Regions from separate parts of the Homo sapiens genome. Here region 2 is linked to region 1. Evidence: promoter capture Hi-C in human tissues and cell types (Jung and others, 2019). All regions are on one chromosome and are shown on one strand. Each heading gives the region's core, a stretch centred on a gene start or on the middle of the fragment in contact. The rest is flanking DNA. Distances are from core to core; before and after follow the strand shown. Region 1 holds the start of SDR42E1 (short chain dehydrogenase/reductase family 42E, member 1). Region 2 overlaps MPHOSPH6 (M-phase phosphoprotein 6).

Region 1 (2,944 bases), core at 322-2,821:
ACACCTGTGAGTAATTGTGACAGCAAACTGATCTTTCTGAGATGCATCCACTGCCTGGACATATTATTGGGGGAAGACAATACTAAACAAACACTGATATACAAACTCACATTGAAGTTAATTTCTTTCTCCAGTCATTTCTGTCTTAGATCTCTTGGTCAGACCTTTATAAAATCAACTCACTAAATTATGATGGAAGCTAAGGAAGCAATTATAGAGTTTGTAATTTTCCTTTAAAACACGCCTGATTATATTTTAAAAGAGTCCTCGGTGGCACAAGAATACTAACATTTAAATTCACCATTTCTCATGTTTATCCACACACTCTAAATCTGGGTATCCCTCAGAGGATCCTGTAATTCCCCAAAGGAAGTCTGTCTTCTTTACTGCATCCTCAGTGGGTCTTTTCTTCCTTAGCTGCTGGCCTCAAGAGCATATAGCTGGTCTCTCAGCCCCCTGAATACCCTTCCTCTTCTCTTCTAATTTTTATGTATCCTAAGCAGCCACTGCAAAGCTGTTCTTTAAGACTGCTTAGCACAAGAAGTCTCCTGTGACTTATGCCTGCCTAATAGGTGAGGACAAGACAGGCAGGAAAGCCAGAGCATCCTATGAGAGAGGCCAGTGCCAGGGACTGGCACTTCTTGATTTCTTCACCTGGGCTTCATTAATTTTTATATCCTAGGACTTGAGCTTTGTCCTTGTGACTGTGTGTGCTTAGTGAAAACTGAGCAGTAAATCAGGCAATTGATATGAACCTCTCTGAGTCTGCCTTTGGTACCAGATCTATCGGCAAGAGCACCACATGAAGTCAAAACTTCCATCCTCCAAGACACTAAAATGAAATCCTCCCCAGCCAGGGGTCCATTCCAGGATGCATGTCCATACACGTGTACAGTCTGCAACCATCCACAGAACCACACTCATGATGAGGAGACAAAAGATGGGCCTCAAAAGGAGACCTCTGAGTGAGGATGCCAACTTTCCTTTCTGCATTCCTTGGTTCCTTCAGCAACAAAGATTAGTCTTGGCATCACTGCCTGCTTGGCGACCAGAACAAAGAGAAATAAGGAAAATTAGGGACACAGGAAAACCTATGGGCACACATAGATATGGAAACTCAGAGATAATAGAAACTTAAAGAGATACATGGAGAGTGAATATTCTGCCTCCCTATAGAGCCTTTTCCATCATCCATCCACCCAAGCAATGCTGACCTGAGTGCCTATTTATCAGGCACTGGTCTTGGCCTTGGGGATAAACAAAGATGGAGGTGAAAGTCTAAAAGCAGACACTGGAGGTGGGAAGAGCAGTTGACGTGGCCCTAACAGGGTTCCCACCACGGCGGAACGCACAGACAGGGGACGTGGGGGAAGACGTGACCCTAAAAGGGTTCCCGCCACGGCGGAACGCACAGCCAGAGAACGTGGGGGAATTCATGAAGCGAACCTCCTGCTACCTCAACGCCGGTGAAGGTGAAGGAGACACCTGCGCGTCATAGAGACTCCGAGACCTCCAGGCTTCCTAGAGAGGCCCGGAAGTGGCTCCAGGAGGCAGGTCCGACGGCTTCGGCGCCCCAGCTGTGGTGATGGGTAGCTAGGAGGCCTGGGCCTCTCTGCCTGCTGTAGCCGTCTGCCGCGCCCTTGTTCCTGCAGCTGTGAGTGGGCCTGGGCTGGGGTTGGGGGGCCGCCGCCCTTCCGCGGGGACCCTGGACCGCCTCGGCCTGGAACGCGACAGGTGGCGGTCCCGGGGGTGGGGGACGGTGGTGAATGACTGAGCAGGGTGGCGGGAAGGAGTATCCCCTTTCAGATGTCTTCCTGATCCCAGGGGACCGGGCGCAGCTTGGCTTTCTAGAATGTCGCCAAGGCCTCAAACACTGGCCCTCCGCATTTTTTGTTTTTAAGGACATCGGGGCCCCAAGCTCCGAACTTTCCACAGGTGGCTGGCTATACTTGATTCCTGTCTTTGATTTTCTGCACACTTTGGGAGAACGATTACCTCCTCTTTATCACTTGGTTCTGGTTTGCCACTTAAAAGTGGCAGTGACAGGTTCCCATTTAAACTGCATGTATTTGTTGGGAAAAGGTAAGTAGGTTTAAACAAAACCTTATAGGCTAGTCATAATACCAGATGAATCAGATGTGACAGAAATTGTGGAGGTGGAGTGAGCCCTGAAAATCTGAGACGGGTCTCAGTTCATTTAGAAAGTTTATTTTGCCAAGGTTGAAGACATGTACCCATGACACAGCCTCAGGCGGTCCTGACGATGTATTCTTAATGTGGTCAGAGCCCAGTTTCGTTTTCTACATTTTAGGGAGACATGAGACAAGAACAGATGTAAGATGAACATGTTTTTCGGTCTGGAAAGGCGGGACAACTCGAAACGGGGAGGGGGCTTCCAGGTCATAGGTAGGTAAGAGACAAATGGTTGCATTATTTTGAGTTTGATTAGCCTCTCCAAAGGAAGCAATCAGATATGCCTTTATTTTAGTGAGCAGAGATACATGAATAGAATGGGAGGCAGGTTTGCCCTAAGCAGTTCTCAGCTTGACTTTTCCCTTTAGCTTAGTGATCTTGGGACCCCAAGATTTATTTTCCTTTCACAGTGATAAGATAATGACCTAAGCGAATCTGTATTGTCCCAGCCTTATTGTGCGGCATTACATGTAGTGGTTAAGAGTCATACAGACCCGGCTTCAAGTCCTGAACCCTGCCCAACCCCTTATGACCTGCATAATTTGTGGGCAAGGTTCCTAACCTCTGATCTATTTTCCTCATTTCTGAAAGCTGATGATAATACTAGTAACAACTTCGGAAGATTGTCCTGAGGCTTAAATGCTAAACCTTTAAACTACCTGTATTAATCCATTCTCATGCTGCTAATAAAAACATACCCAAGACTGGGTAATTTATAAAGTTAAGAGGTTTGATGGACTCACAGTTCCAC
Region 2 (2,944 bases), core at 313-2,812, 150 kb before region 1:
ACACCATCAGAAACAAAGGACTTACTGTACAGCAAGCAGCACAAGCATCAAGTTTGCGTCATTTCTCTTTTGTCCCCAACTCCTATGAGGGATGGCGTGAAGTGGCCCAGGTGGATGCTGTGCACCCAGTGGATTTGCATCATAGCTGAGATCTCCTGAGCTTAGAAAACTGGAACCTTGGATAACGGACCACAAGCAGACTTGCCTTCGGCCCCAAGAGAGGCATCTGTATTATGCTGGACAGTAAGCAAATCTGCCCTTCGCTTTAGAGGAAGACTGTTTTTCAAGGCTGCTCGCTATGCAGATATCCTTGCAAAGATAGTCCAGAGCAACCGGGCAGTTAGTGCCTCACTCAAAAAATGTGCAGGAATGTGAGACCCACTGAGAAGGGTTTTCTAACTGGAGTTTTGCCATGGTATTTGTGGCTTTAGGCAAGTCCAGCTTTTTCTGAGCAGTAGTTTCTCATCTGCGAAATTTATGAAATAATTTTGTGGGTGTGTTTTAGCCTGAAAATTATCCTCATTAATGAAAATTGGATAATTAAAATACAAAAAGAGGTAAGTTTTGAAATATTTCACTTGCTTGCCAACTCTGTAATTAATTTTTCTAATTCTTAAAACCATGCATGTAGATACAAAACACCTGTGCTCCTTTTTATATTAAAGATACGGTGTCAATGCAAACCCGTGGGAAAAACCTCTGAGGGGCCAGTAGTCCTGCTCTGAATCCAGTCCTGACCTCTGGAGGTTGTCTTTCTCTGGGTCCCTCCTTTGCCTTAAGTGAAAGCTTTGATGTATGGTGCTTTCCTGAGAGAGATGATTTACTTTGGAATTGAGGAGGTCTCATCAGCTGCTCCCTCTATAAGGAATAAGATTGGGCAATTGAGAGGGAATCCCAAGTTCATAGAAAAAGCTGAACAGCAAGTTCTGTGCCCAAATTTAGATTCCCTCAGGGAGAGGCGGTTCTGAAGTAAGTGAGTTTCTAGCCAGACTAGAGGGCCAGTGAGAGAGGAACCAAAATCACAGTGGTTCTCAGAGTTTTGGAACTCAGAAGCTATTTGCATTTATAAAAATTATTTAGAACTCCTAGGCCGGGCACGGTGGCTCACACCTGTAATCCCAGCACTTTGGGAGGCCGAGGCAGGCGGATCACGACGTCAGGAGATCGAGACCATCATGGTTAACATGGTGAAACCCCGTCTCTACTAAAAATACAAAAAAAATTAGCCAGGCATGATGGCGTGTGCCTGTAGTCCCAGCTTCTCAGGAGGCTGAGGCAGGAGAATCACTGGAATCCAGGAGGCGGAGGTTGCATTGAGCCGAGATTGCGCTACTGCACTCCAGCCTGGGCAACAGAATGAGACTCCATCTCAAAAAAAAAAATTTATTTAGAACACCTAAAGAGTGTTTTGTGTGATTTATATTTGTTAATATTTACTATGTAAGAAATTTTAAAAATTATTTAAATAACAAATTCATTACCTAACACATTTTTAATGACAAATAACTTTTTCAAGACAAAAAATTTAACGAGAAGAGTGGCACTGTTTTCTGTTTTTGCAAATCTCTTTAACATTGTGGCATAATAGAAGACAGCTAGACTCTGAACGCCTGCAGTCAGCCTGTTAAAGCATGTTGTATTGGTTGAAGTATATAAAGAAAATCCCCCTCACACAGGTGATACAGTTGAAAAGAGAGGAGTATCTCAATGGCCTTTTCAGATAATTCTTTGGTACAACTCCAAAACTCAGTCAGTAGTAGTTTCTTCAGAGTAAATTGCAACGTGGAATCTGAAAACACCAGTGAATTTTTCATGTCTTGGTCTGTCTTGTATTCCAAATAGATCTTTTACCTGTATATGATTTCTTAACATCCTGCATCTGTCATTTGGAAAATGAGTTGTATAGATTTTCCCAGTGTTAACTCATCTTGTTATACAATATCAAAAATCACATTCATTAGTATCACCGTGGGTTTCAACAGAAAAGTCTTTTAAGTGTTGGGAAGCTATCAAGCCCAAGATGACAGATAAAAGCTATTCGGAATTCTAACTTTTGCTTGAAAGCTTGAATTTTGTTATTGGCAGTAAATAGTGTCAGTTATTCCCCTTGAAGTGTCAGGTTCACTTTATTTATTTTCAAGAAAATGTCTGCCAAAGAACCCAAACCCGCAAAACCATAGTTACGGTGTGACATTGAAAAAAAGTGTCTAATTCATCTCTCGGTTCAGTCACACAAGTGCAGTTAGATTATTTGACTATGATGAAGTATCTTTTTTTTTTTTTTTTTTTTTTTTTGAGACGGAGTCTCGCTCTGTCACCCAGGCTGGAGTGCAGTGGCGAGATCTCCGCTCACTGCAAACTCCACCTCCCGGGTTCACACCATTCTGCTGCCTCAGCCTCCAATGTAGCTGGAACTACAGGCACCCGCCGCTATGCCCAGCCAATTTTTTTTTTTTTTTGTATTTTTTTAGTAGAGACAGGGTTTCATCGTATTAGCCAGGATGATCTCAATTTCCTGACCTCGTGATCCTCCTGCTTCGGCCTCCCAAACTGCTGGGATTACAGGTGTGAGCCACTGCGCCCGGCTAAGAAGTATCTTATATATAGAGTTTCAATTTCGTATACCGAATATTTTTTAAAGTAATTGAGGGCTAAGATTAACAGAAATAAATTTGTGCTGTGTCATCAAGAACATTCTAATGTGAAACTGGCATTTTTCTTTGAACTGTGAGGGCCTGGCAGTGAAGAATGTAACTACCAGGGTAGTCTGGTATCACTGCTGCTTTCACTCATGCTAAGATTCGTTTTACCCAGAGTTGCTTTTGCACAGTCTGCAAATGTCAACACAGTAAAAGATGACATCTTAATGTTATCATGCAAGTAACTCTGACCTCCTGCTACTACTCTGCATTGTCTCCATTCCAACTGCAGGGGCTTTATGTTT

The links. Contacts are between HindIII fragments. The study calls those that stand out against the background at their distance.
Region 2: a fragment that was not itself captured here is called in contact with the fragment with the promoter of SDR42E1 in region 1 in 1 of the 25 tissues and cell types used here (IMR-90 fibroblasts).

The regions. Positions count from the first base shown.
Region 1 is chr16:82,010,097-82,013,040 of GRCh38, reverse strand. It overlaps SDR42E1 (short chain dehydrogenase/reductase family 42E, member 1), which reads left to right and starts at 1,571. Exons shown (of 3, transcript NM_145168.3): 1 at 1,571-1,654. RefSeq lists enhancers at 1,227-1,306, 1,317-1,406 and a silencer at 1,647-1,796. The HindIII fragment of the contact is 11,252 bases long and covers 1-2,944 here.
Region 2 is chr16:82,157,850-82,160,793 of GRCh38, reverse strand. The region is part of intron 2 of MPHOSPH6 (M-phase phosphoprotein 6); the gene reads left to right. Among named protein-coding and RNA genes, the nearest start is that of MPHOSPH6, 11 kb to the left of the region's middle. RefSeq lists an enhancer at 1-66. The HindIII fragment of the contact is 4,962 bases long and covers 1-2,944 here.